Regions from separate parts of the Homo sapiens genome. Here regions 1, 3 and 4 are each linked to region 2. Evidence: promoter capture Hi-C in 16 types of primary human blood cells and fetal thymus (Javierre and others, 2016). All regions are on one chromosome and are shown on one strand. Each heading gives the region's core, a stretch centred on a gene start or on the middle of the fragment in contact. The rest is flanking DNA. Distances are from core to core; before and after follow the strand shown. Region 1 overlaps LOC107984326 (a long non-coding RNA gene). Region 2 holds the start of IFTAP (intraflagellar transport associated protein). Region 3 overlaps PRR5L (proline rich 5 like). Region 4 overlaps LOC107984326 (a long non-coding RNA gene).

What was found. Contacts are between HindIII fragments. The CHiCAGO score rates a contact against its expected background, and 5 or more counts as called.
Region 1: a contact is called between a fragment that was not itself captured here and the fragment with the promoter of IFTAP in region 2, in 1 of 17 cell types (fetal thymus). The highest score is 7.3, in fetal thymus.
Region 3: a fragment that was not itself captured here is called in contact with the fragment with the promoter of IFTAP in region 2 in 1 of 17 cell types (fetal thymus); the score reaches 5.3 in fetal thymus.
Region 4: a fragment that was not itself captured here is called in contact with the fragment with the promoter of IFTAP in region 2 in 1 of 17 cell types (fetal thymus); the score reaches 5.7 in fetal thymus.

Annotation. Positions count from the first base shown.
Region 1 is chr11:36,753,050-36,756,197 of GRCh38, forward strand. The region is part of intron 3 of LOC107984326 (a long non-coding RNA gene); the gene reads left to right. Among named protein-coding and RNA genes, the nearest start is that of RAG2, 160 kb to the left of the region's middle. The HindIII fragment of the contact is 6,169 bases long and covers 1-3,148 here.
Region 2 is chr11:36,593,252-36,596,367 of GRCh38, forward strand. IFTAP (intraflagellar transport associated protein) reads left to right here and starts at 1,251. Exons shown (of 6, transcript NM_138787.4): 1 at 1,251-1,341. It overlaps RAG2 (recombination activating 2), which reads right to left. Exons shown (of 2, transcript NM_000536.4): 2 at 1-944. The coding sequence starts at 917. RefSeq lists an enhancer at 1,158-1,297. The HindIII fragment of the contact is 5,310 bases long and covers 1-2,113 here.
Region 3 is chr11:36,341,136-36,344,203 of GRCh38, forward strand. The region is part of intron 1 of PRR5L (proline rich 5 like); the gene reads left to right. Among named protein-coding and RNA genes, the nearest start is that of PRR5L, 46 kb to the left of the region's middle. The HindIII fragment of the contact is 2,496 bases long and covers 173-2,668 here.
Region 4 is chr11:36,735,753-36,739,067 of GRCh38, forward strand. The region is part of intron 3 of LOC107984326 (a long non-coding RNA gene); the gene reads left to right. Among named protein-coding and RNA genes, the nearest start is that of RAG2, 140 kb to the left of the region's middle. The HindIII fragment of the contact is 1,519 bases long and covers 670-2,188 here.

The DNA.
Region 1 (3,148 bases), core at 345-2,844, 160 kb after region 2:
AGCAATGTGCATGGAAGTTAAGACCCATCTTTGAAATTAATTTGAGGCACTGATCAAGACTTTATGCCTTAACATTTGTTTTTCTTTTCATCAGGCATCATGCCCAAATTTTTATTCTTAGCCATTTATTTATTTTAACTTTGAACAGCTTTAATATTTGGAGAAACTTACAATATTTACATAATCCTGAGAGGGCTGACACCTAAGAGACTCAGCCATGATGCTTTTGAGAACTCCCTAAGCACACAGCTTCTTGGGAATTGGATTTATTTTATCTTATTTTTTTATTTATTTTATTTTATTATTATTATACTTTAAGTTTTAGGGTACATGGGCACAATGTGCAGGTTAGTTACATACGTATACATGTGCCATGCTGGTGTGCTGCACCCATTAACTCATCACTTACATTAGGTATATCTCCTAATGCTATCCCTCCCCCCTCCCCCCACCCCACACCAGACCCCAGAGTGTGATGTTCCCCTTCCTGTGTCCATGTGTTCTCATTGTTCAATTCCCACCTATGAGTGAGAACATGCGGTGTTTGGTTTTTTGTCCTTGCAATAGTTTACTGAGAATGATGATCAGGTGTCTGGGACTGGGAAAAGGCACAAACAGGCATCAGGAGAGGAAGTAGAGGAAAAAGACAACAAAAGAGACAAATATCCATTTCTCAATTTTGCAGCGAGGTAACCCTTTCCCCAGCCAACAGTTAGAGGAAAGTTCCTGACCTAAGGATCCTGTGACACAGACCCTGAGCGACTATATGGCAAATGCTGCTTTTGACAGGCAAGGCCAATGCTTCTTCACAAAGAGGTTGCACAGTTCCATCCCTGTCAGAGTAGCATCTGGAAAATGCCAACGACAGCATCCTATATATCCTCTTCCTTCTAGCTGGATGGATCCCAGAGCTAGGTGCTCACACAGGCTGGACTAGCAACTTGGTGCAACGGGAAGGAAATAATCTTTTTGACGGAGTATGAGAGGATCAAATGAAGTGAAGGATGAGACACGTTGCTGAGTCCAGGTAGAGTGGGCTCCTTTGTGAGTAACTAAGGCTCCTTGCTGCCACAAGAAGTCAGACTCTGGGCAGCCCTCCAAACCCTGGTAAGGACTTTGATCTTTATCCTAAGGAAAACAGGAAGCCATGTAAGTGTTTGGATTAGAAGATTTTGGGGAGAGTGACATACATTCAAATCCACTCAGAATATCTTACAGGGATGGTGAGGCCTCAGTGCTGCCCGCGTTTTCTATACCCCATTGGTTAGTTTTGGTTGATGCGGGTATTTGTTCTGATAGAAAAGAAGAACAGATGCAGTTTTTAGGAGGCAGGAATCAGAGACAGAGAAGTAATGCTTTATATCAGTGCTTCCCAACACTTTTAACATCATTTAACATAGCACACATAATGATGATTACAATCCTATAGCATATTGGGGAAATGAAGAAGATTGCTCAGAGCCTAAGTAAGGGGCTCAACATCTGGGACACCTGGAAGCCCTTTGTAGCACAAAAGATGCCCTGATACTCTGGTTTAGAGGGCAGCAGGTAGATTTTAACCCTTTCACTGCTGCTCCCTTCTTTGGACTGCACCTCTCTTACCTGCCTTCATGGTCTCAATCCATCTCTCCACAGTCTCCTTGCTGCCTCCACGAGTGTGTCCATTCTAAACACAACGTGCTGCTTTTGATTTGCCAAGTGTCTGATGGGCTGTTGACGGAAGAGACAGGCTGAAGCCAGCCTTTCATCAATGTTGGTTGTAGAAGCTGAATTATGTCTCTGCCACATCTTTGACACCTCTCTGTTCTGCAACTCCTATTGGTGGGGAATTCCCTGTTTATGAGAGACCCATGGTTCAGCCATCTTTCAATTAAACTTATTAAGAAAACAGGCCTTTGCGTTCCACTTGAGGGAAAGGGCATCTGAATCTGGAGAGGCATTCGAGGCACGAGGAAACAGTTGGTTTGAATAAGGTCACAGATTAATTAGAATTGGGCTTCATTAAAGCTGCATGAGCACCTGGACAACTTTGCCAAGACAGGGGATCATCTGGGTATCTTTGAACAGTCCCTTTCTCTTCTGGGCACTTGTTCTCTGGTTTGGGCCTTGATTCCAGCTGCTGTGAGAGACTCCTGTGCCTGAACGTGTTTCCAAGTCAATTATGCAGGCTTCTCTGAGGCTGCTTAGTTTGGTTAGAGCGCTATTCTAATGAAGTCAAGGTCTGAAGTTTGCTCTCTGCATGGGCTTTAGTTTCAGTCTGCTCTGCAACCCTGATTACCTGTTTCCTAATATGAGGAGAGAACACACTGCTTAGGGAAGGAGTGGGTATAGGAATTGGGAGCATCTTGTTCCAGCCTTCTCACATTTCTTCCTGTTGAGGCAGGCATGGATCCAGGTACCACTTAAATTACAGAGGTGTTCAGCTAGTGCATCCCTGCAGGGTCCTGGGGGCTAGAACCTTGTGAATGAATTTGACTCTGATGAGAGCGCCAACAAGGCATGCCATGAAGTGGCCAAGCTCTTCTTTCTCTTCATCAAATCCCCTTTTCCACCTGCCTCCACTTGGAAAGTTAGTTGATAAACTAATTTATACTAATCTGCAATAACCAATAGTAACTAAACATGTGCCCTGTATTGATGAGTCAATGCATTGTTTCTAAATCAGTGATTTTCAAACCATTATGGAAGTGTGTTTAGGGTTGTGTGGGAGACTGACCATCCCAGTGTACGTGGAACTGGTGTTTTCCAGAGTATAGAACACACAGTGCTAAATCCTGGAAAGCCCTGGGCAAACCAGCATGAGGTGGTTAATCTAGGGATTTTAGGAGGGATGACTCTGCGTGTGTGTGTGTGTGTGTGTGTGTGTGTGTGTGTGGCAGGGTGAATAAGGTGAGGATGGCAGTACCCAGTGGTGGCTGAGAATGGGGTGCCTGCCTCTACTTCAGCCACAGAGGCAACATGTTTTATATATTTTATATTTTAAAGTTGGATGAAATTTTCATTGAAAAGCATTGGCAAAGCTGTTCTCTCAAAGAATTAAAGTCAAAAGGAATCTATCAGGAACCAGAGCAAGGGAGATGTCCAGGTGTAGAGAATTCCTGAAGTCCGCTTTTCACCAAGAAGACACCTGCTACTCTGCCAACATGAA
Region 2 (3,116 bases), core at 1-2,500:
TCTGGGGTCTCCATCTCACGAATTTCTATCTTGTTGTCCTCTAAAGAGATGATGTTGCAGATCATTCTTTTTTGATTTTCAAGCTGATAGCCACCAACAATAACAAATTCATCATTGTTAGTTTGAGTCAGGATTGCACTGGAGACAGAGATTCCTCCTGGCAAGACTGTGCAATTCACAGCTGGGCTACCCAGGGGAAGATCAACCCTTATTCTGTACAGGTTGGCAGGCCGGATATTATTGGCAAGTGAATGTCCTCCTAAAATATAGATGGTGTCATTTTTGGCAATAGAGACATGAAAAGATAGCCCATCCTGAAGTTCTGGAAGAATGTATGATGTAGCACACCCAAATTCAAAATCCACCAGGAAAACACAGGGCAGGCAGTCAGCTACACTATTCCATTTTTCTGTGGTTCTGTGGGTAGAAGGCATGTATGAGCGTCCTCCAAAGAGAACACCCATACTTTTCCCTCGGCTGTACACCACATTAATGGAATGACCATATCTGGCTTCAGGAACATCTCCTACCAAGTCTTTCTCTGTGCAGCGAAAAGTAACCTTTTTGTTGTTCTTGCAAACAATAGACATGACATAAATCTTATCTGAAACCTCATTGTTTGGTGTTTTCCCTCCATGGATGATGTATTGATGCTTTTCAGACTCCAAGCTGCCTTTGAATGTGCAAGTGGCTGGGTAGCGAAGAGGAGGGAGGTAGCAGGAATCCTTAGAGAAAATTGTAGGCTTCAGTTTGACATGGTTATGCTTTACATCCAGATGGAAAACTCCAGTGGGGCAGGATCTTTTGGGCCAGCCTTTTTGTCCAAAGAAGAAAACTTGTCCATCAAAATTCATCAGTGAGAAGCCTGGCTGAATTAAGGCTATGTTATTACTGACTGTTACCATCTGCAGAGACATAGTTTCTGATGGTACGTAGATTTTTGTCTGAAAGAATTATAAAATAAAATGACTTAGAGATCGCTTCATATAATCATCGTATTTAGATTCCTTCACATGTGAATAGCATTTTTTTAAGTCCTCCCACACGCTTGCAGTGGGACTGAATGAGGAAAATCCAAGGAGTTAGGTCAGTAAAGAGCCACAGAACCTTTACTGCCATTCCATCCAAGGAGCTGGGACATGTTTTAGCCACGGACTATATGCTCCCTAGGATTTCTGGGAATTGTAGTCCTTTTCCGTAAAGAGTCACCATGCGTCAGCTGAAAGAACCACATTTCCCAAGAATCCGTTCTCTCTGGGATGTGTAGCTTTGGAAATCTGTCTTTGTTGCTCTGGGAGAGGGGACTCCTGGAATGTGTCTGTGAATAAAGACTAGCCGAAGGTGCGAAGTGACTAGACGGGAGCAAAGGAGGAAAACTAGGGAATGGGAGGTGAGAGTGGCTGACACCGACCCAACGTCCGGGTTGCCGGAAGGCTGCAGCGCCCGGAGCGGTGTCGGGCAAACCGCTACCCTGGTATTGCTGGAGCCTCTCCTGGGGACTTTTGAACAGGTGACCCGATAGGAAGCACAACTGCTTCTGTTGGAGTGCGGTTACCTGGAGACCGCAGTCTGAAGGGACTCCCGGCAGAGATGTCGTTACGGTGTCCTGCCTGTCTGGATGCTTAGGAGCGCGACTCAAAACTACACCCCTGACGACCCTGGAGGTGCTTGGGGCGGGAGGTTGAAGGGGGCACCGAGGTTACAAAAGCCGTGACTGTCTTACAGAACCGAAAGATGGATCTTTGAATCCCTAGAGTGCAGGGGAGACATTGCCTGTTAAAGATGTTTACCACTTCTACATTTAGTAATAGAAATACAGTTATTAGGTTTTAACGAGTGCACTTTGAAGGTCCTTTGTTTTCTTCACTGTTTTTACTCCTGTTTTTAGGGTTCTTTTAGGGAAGCAGAGAAGGTTCCTAAACACATCTTCTTTTCATCTTCATTCTAGGAAAATAGAGTTAGTGGCTTTTTCACATCTTTCCAGTCCAAGAACTTTTGGGTAATTCTTTAATAATTCTGTAGTAAGTAAGCAGGGACTAAGCATAGAAGTGTTTGAATTATTCAGAATTTCATACTTGTGTTACAACAAAAAGAATATTTACTAGATGAAGGAAGCTTGATAAATTTCTATTTTATTATTGTTTACCTTAGAGAGTTGTGGAATACACTCCGTGTTTGCAGTGTGATGTCCTGTGCACCAAATGTTAAAGGAAACAAAACATAGCACAGATTTCTTGACTTTTAAGAGTTAATTCTTAATATGCTTCAAAAGCAGTATAAACAATGGCTGAGTGTGGACTCTGAATGCTTACTGGCTGGATTCAAATCCTGGCTCTGCCACTAACTACATGACTTTGGGCAAGTTATGTAACCTCTGTGTGCCTCAGTTTCCTCATCTGAAAACTGAGATAATAATTTTACCAACCTCATATATTGATGTCAGTTATGATTAATAGTTGAATATACGTAAAGTACTTAGAACAGGGATTTGCATATAGTAGACGATAGTTATGATTATTTTAAAATTTACCAAAAATAAGGTCTAGTGCATACGCACCTGCCAGTAATGGCAGTTGATAAGGTTGGAGAGGATGAGAAGGGGCTTTAGGATATGGGAATCAGGTCAGTGGGTATAGACAGATAAACATTTGAACTAAAAGAATTGGATAAACATATATGATGAGGGTGCTGGTAGTAGTTAATTTATTAACAGAAGATAGTTAATATTTTATTCTTCTTGTCACCCTTTGTCTAACTGGGGATAATCTTGGTATATATTCACTGGGCTGTTTTGAGAAATAAATGGGATAGCACGTGTAAATCACATAGAACAGTGCCTGGCACATAAACACTCAATAAATGTTAATTGATACTATAATTTATCTAATTTATCTTTATTCCTCCTGCAAAGATTCCTTGGACTATTTAGAATCTCTGGTCACTCTAATGAGATGGTAGTGTTTTTTTTTTGTTTTTTTTTTTTTTTGCTTTAAAGAACTTCTGTAGATCAGCTGTAATTTACTGCTAAATAATCTCTTGTAGTTATTATTTTCAGTCTACTTGGGAGACTCGTAAGGGGGTGATCTTTCAACAATTATCTGGTGGGTTATTAAAGC
Region 3 (3,068 bases), core at 171-2,670, 250 kb before region 2:
TCCACGGTGGTCGCCCATCCTTCCTGAGCCTCCCTGTGCTGCAGAGTCCACAACATGATAAATGGAGCCTGTCACACAGAGAGAGATTAATTTGGGGGCAGGGTTACTTGCCTGGCAGCCATGGGAAAGTGAGCCCTCTATACGCTTGGCTCAAGTCAGAATTTCATTTGAAAGCTTCTATAATTCAGAGGCAAAGGGAATATGGCTGGTTCAAGGGGGTGACGGCTGTCCAAAGACCAACCTGAGAGCTGAAGATATTCACTGGGTACTTCGATATGCCAGGTGCTGTGGATGTAACAATGGACAAGCCTCTAGCATACATAGTTAAGATGATCATAGGATTCCAGACCAGAGTGCTTTGAGAGTGAAGAACACAGGCTTCAATTGGAACTATCTGGAGCTCAATGGGACATGCCGTCACAGTAAGCAGAGCCATTAAGACCACCCACAGCTCTGGAGCTCCCAATTCTGAATCTGGCCAAGTGACCATGAGCTTGTTTCTTGCTGCACAAAATGGGAACAATAACAGTACAGAGCTCTTGCCTCTCATAAATGTTGTAAGGGTTATATCAGATAATAATAGTGGCCAGAATTTGCTAAGAACCCCCTCCTCACAAGACAAGAGCTTGAGGTCAAGTCGTTGGGCTCTGTGGTGTTTACCTGGTTTTCCAGAAGCTGAGATGTCAGGTGGGCTTTGCAAGGTGAGAGCCAGTGCTTAATGGCTCTGGAATATCCAAGGGAATTAAAGAGGCAAAGGTGGGGAAGAGAACAGGAGAAACGAAGAGACAACTGGAAGCGGAAAGAAATGTTGGGTGGACATTGGACAGCTAATGGAAATGTTTCAAAGTACCTACTGTTTGGTCCACGCTGTGATTCCATCTACAAGCCCGTCTCTGCATAACGTCTTCAGCAAAGTAGCCATTGTTTCTGAACGTCTTGATGGAGGCAGATCTTTTTGGGAGGATACAGCAGACTCAAGGTGGGTCGGCAGAGGGAGCTGAGGCACTCCCCATGTCCTACTCCGCACTCCATGAAGGCTCAACTAAGGGTGAATTGGTGAACACCAAGTGCTTAGCCTAGTACCAGTCTGTAGAGAAGTTTCTATAAACCGTATTATTATCACCATTATCTTTATTATGTAGGCTGGCTTTGGTCTATCAACACTAACCTGGAAATATAAAGCTGGAGATCAGTAGGGCAGACGGGGGCGAAATATGCCCCATAAGAACAAAGGGGAGTGTTATTATTATACATTATCCCTAGGGAAGCCTAGGGTTCAGGAGAAAGAAATGACTTCGAGAAATCCCAGGAGAGTCTCAGGCAGCTCTATGTGTGCCAGGTCTACCTCCAGTAAGACATGGGTGGTATTCCACACTGATCAGTTGTTTGAAGAATGAGAAGAATGTTAATTAATCCTGTTATCTGAGCAGAGTACTTTCTGGTTCAATTTCTCTGATAAAACCACCCTGAATGGAGAACTCTCAGAACACCCAAGCAGGCCTCCTTCTAGGATCCCTTGAGGTTCAGCGAGACTTGGAAACGGGTGGGATGGGGCACCCTTTCTGGTCCTAGGAACTTCAGGGTCAGGGCTGACTCTTTCCTCTCAGTGTTCTGACCAGAGACCCTTTACAATCCAGTCTTCTTCTCCCTTTAAATATAGCCGCACTTTAGAAAGAAATGGGAAAAAATTAATTCATGTGTCACTTTGGCACATTGTTTTTTTCTCATAGTCTCTCCTTAAAACCTGCAGGCATTTAAAAAAATACTGGTGATGCACCAGGGACTGCATGCTGGGCACTGGATAGAACTGCTTTAGAACAGACTTCAATAAGTGAATTGTTAAATTGAAAGGCAAGAACAATTTGATGTTTCGAGGAGATCATGGTTTTGCAAAAGCGATTCTTAAAGTGATTGGCAGCTTATGGGGATTCACAATTTAGCATGAAGGGCTGACGATCTCAAAGGCAGCTGGGCAAAGACCCCAGAATGATTCCTTCAGGACCAAGATGTGACTGGCTTGTGTGATTTGTATCAGAATTCCATGTTGATCAGAAATGCATTCAGAATTGTTTCAAATGTTAAAAAAACAGAAAAGAGAGACAAATTCTAGTTCAACATCTGTAAGGGAGTACATGTACTCTCAGTGAGTGATATGCAAGATTTGCAGATTAGACAAAAAGTATTGTTAGTGTCTACCCTGTGTGAAAAGTATATAAGACGCCTTGACCTTTGTAAGTTCCTCCATCTAGCTACTTAGAGGATTTCTTTGTTGCCTGAGGCTGTCTGTAAAGGTCTCACAACCTTGCCTCTGAAATATGGTTTCACTTACCTTGGGGACCCTTTCATGCAAGGTGGAGGTTGGCCTGAACAGCTAAAAAGACAGTGAACAAAGACTTCACTGAGCACGCAGTAAAGGCTGTAGGAACCACATTATTTCTGCTCACTCTAAAAGTTGAGCAGATGTTGGTAGTGTGGAAGATTTGGTCTGAGATTTGCTCTCAGGTGGTAGAAGAGCAGCTAACTTTCACCCATCAGCCTTTATAGTGGTTTCCATCACTTACCAAAAAGAAACTAAGTATACGTACATAAGGTATGTGATTCTCGCAATGACGCCGTGATGTAAATGCTATTATTACCTCCACTTACTGTTGAGGAAACAGGTCTGGAAAGCTTAAGTCACCTATCCAAGGACACAGTCAGAATATAGATCTAGGGCATTTGGTTCTAAAGCCCATGCTCTTTTTACAATGTAGAAATAAGTTTTATGTTGTTTTTTTTTTTTTAAAATATCACATGCTTGGTGGGGTGCGGTGGCTCACGCCTGTAATTCGAGCACTTTGGGAGGCCGAGGCGGGTGGATCACCTGAAGTCAGGAGTTCGGGACCAGCCTGGCCAACATGGAGAAATCCCGTCTCTACTAAAAATACAAAAATTAGCCAGGTGTGGTGGCATGTGCCTGTTATCCCAGCTACTCAGGAGGCTGAGGTAGGAGAATCACTTGAACCTGGGAGGCAGAGGTTGCAGTGAGCCAAGATTGTGCCACTGCACACTCCAGCCTGGGCAACAAG
Region 4 (3,315 bases), core at 179-2,678, 140 kb after region 2:
AAAAATAGAGTATTTAACAAAGCTACAGAGCTGGCATCACAAAACTGGCATAGCTGCAACAGGGATCCTCTTATGATTTTAATATAGATCATACTGCTTTTATATTCAAAATGGTTAAGAGCTTTCCATTGTAATTAGGACAAAATTTACATGCCTTAGCATGGCTGACAAGGCCTTGCCTGATCTGGTCCCTGTTTTTCTCACCAACCTAATTTTTGCCTCGCCCCCTTACTCTACATGCTCCAGCCATATTAGTTGACTCTCACCTCCTTGATAGTGGTGAATTCTCTCAGCTTTTGTTTGTTTGGGAACGACTTTCTTTCTCCTTCTTATGGAAGGATAATTTTTCTGGGTACAGTATTCTCATATGGCAGTTTTTTTTTTCTTTGAGCACTTTGAAAATGTTGTTCTACTCTCTCCTAGCCTGCGTGGTTTCTGTTGAGCAACCTGCTGCCAGATGATTTAGAGCTCCATTATATGCCAATTTACTTCCTTTCTTTTGCTGCTTTTAGGATCCTTTCTTTGTCTGTAACCATTGAGAGTCTGATTCTTATATGCCTTGGGAAAGTCTTATTTGGGTTCAATCTGTTTCATGTTTTCCGACCTTCTTATACTCGGATATTTATATCTTTTTCAAGTTTTGGAAACTTTTCTATTATTCTTTGAATAAGCTTTCTACCCATTGCTCTTGCTCAGCTTTCTTTTGAACACCAATAATTCTTAGATTTGGTCTTTTCAGGTAATTTTCTATTTTTTGTGGGAGGCCTTCATCCCTTTTCATTATTTCTTCTTTTGTCTCCTCTGTGTATTTTCAAATAGCCGGTCTTCAAGCTCACTGATTTTTTTTCCCTCTGCTTTGTCCATTCTGCTGTTAGGAGCTTCCAATGAGTTTTTCAGTTCAGAAAACGTATTTCTCAGTTCCAAGATTTCCATTTGATTTTTTAAAAATTTCAATCTCTTTGTTAAATTTTCTCAATACATTTCTGAATTGCTTTTCTGTGTTATCTTGGAGATCACCAAGTTTCCTCAAGACTGCTATTATGAATTCTTGATCAGAGAGCTCACGAATCACTGTCTTGTTAGGGTCAGTGACTGAACTTTTGTTTTGTCCTTTTAGGGGAGGTCATAGTTCCCAGTTTGCTTTGTTTCTTGTGGATGTATGACAATGTCTTTGCAATAAAGGATTAATTATTTATTCTAGTTTTCTCTGGTTTGTTTTGTTTCTTTGGATATATTTGCTCAGCAAATACTGTTAGATCACTGCTCCCTTTTTGGTTCTAAGCCTTGTGCCTTAAGCCCAGGTTTGCTTTGACTCTAGTTAATGAGTGGAGCACTGCCTGTCCTGGATGGGGTTAAATTTCAAAGGAATTATCCCAGCAGTGTGGGAAGGCTGGCTAGGGGTTCATGCCCAATGGACCTATGAAATGTACCTCCTACAGGGTACTGCTGCTTAACAGCTACCTGATTTGGCATCTCCTTTGGCCAAGTTACAGAGCAGACTTTCCAGGGCTCAGGATGCTAGTCCCTCCTCCTCCCTTTGTCTCTGCCTGTCCTTAGGGATATTTCTTCCTTCAGGCAATCACTTCCCATGGGTTAAGGCAAGGACAGGTCTCCTGCCAGGCAACCTAAGATAGTGGGAAAGCTGGATGATCACCTCAATCTCACTTTTTCCAGTGTAGGAACTGTGAATTGGGTAAAATTACCTGCACACTTGTTGCCGGGAAGAATGTGGGTTGTGGGGAAGGGCATCCTCAGAGCCTAGATGGTAGGTAAATTCTCCCATCCTTTGCTCAGAGGTTTTTCACTTCTCCATGACCTCAAGATCTATCTCATCTTCACATTTGAGTCCTGGGTTGTTGCTGGCAAAAACTTTGGTACTGTATATATATTTTTGGTTTTCTGTGGGGGTTGATGATAATGTAGCCAGCTCACCTCTATACCACCATTTTAAAACCTACTCTCAGCTCCTTGAACACTCCAGGAGCTTCGCCAACTCTGGATCTTTGTATAATCCCACTCCGCTGCCTGGAATAATCCTCCACTTGGTCCTTGTATATCAAAATCATTCTCATCCTTTGGGTCTCAGACTAAATGCTATCCATGGAGGACTTTCAATCCAACATAAAATATCCAAGATAGCTGTTTTACTCAGATGTTGGCACCTGGCTGGAATGACTGGAATAGCTAAAGCTTGCTTGGCCTCTCTTTCCCCATATCCTTTTCTAAGCTAGCTTGAGGTTCCTCACAACATGGTACTCTCAGGATGTATCTATTCACATGGGAGCTAGCTTCCCCTAGAACAAGTATTCTAAGAAAGAATATTGCTACTTCTTTACAGTCTGGGTGAAGCATCACTTCCGTCATATTTTACTGGTAAGCACAGTGTCAGAACCAGCCTAGATTCAAGGGGAGGGGACATAGACATTTCCCCTCAATGGAGAGGAGTATCAGATAATTTGTGGACAAGTTATGCTATCACAGGGCCCTTCCTACAGCCTCCACTGGCACACAGTACTTGCCTTCCCATGACATTTAAACTGAATTGTAACTGCCTTGTCTTAGTGAACATTGTGACTTCCAGAGGCCAGCACAGCACCATTGATAAATATGTGTTCAATGAGTAAATGAATGAATGAAAATTAAGAAGGTTTGCTTTACATTTTAGATATCCTTAAGGTTCTGACAAACAGGAAACCCTTGAAGCCACGAAGCTTCATGAGGAATCAAATCTTTCTTGTTGACTGTTACTTCCTCTGTATTGGCACAGTACCTGGCAGGTATATTACATCCTCAATAGCTGTTTGTTGAATGAATAAGTGAAAGAATGCATGTCTATCAAAGCTAGTTCCACTTCCCTTTCAAAGGCACCAATGTCGATTGTTTGTAAGTAAACCTCAAGCCATTTTTGCTGTACTAGCTGCAGAGCCAGCTCCATTTCTGTACTTCCTATTCTTCTTATATCTCTAGCCCCAGATAACTCTGGGGAGCCACATCCCCAAGGACTTGACATTATACTTCACACGTGTATTCTCAGACACTTGAAGCAGGGGTAGAAGTGGAACACTGTTTTGAAATTCATTGAGCTCAGAAAAAAATGCCTTCAGAGCTAAGAGGTCTGTCAGTTATAATGTACAGACTTCTGGAGCTTATTTAGCCTTTTCTTTTAGGGGCACATTGGAAAATAGGAAATTGGAGGACTTGTAGAAGGATGTGGTAAATGTGATAAGCATATGAAGCTCTTTTCTGTGTGCTCAAAGAGGATGCAAACAAGGACTATATGAACATTGCTAGGGGTCCTGAGGGGCTCAGAATTAT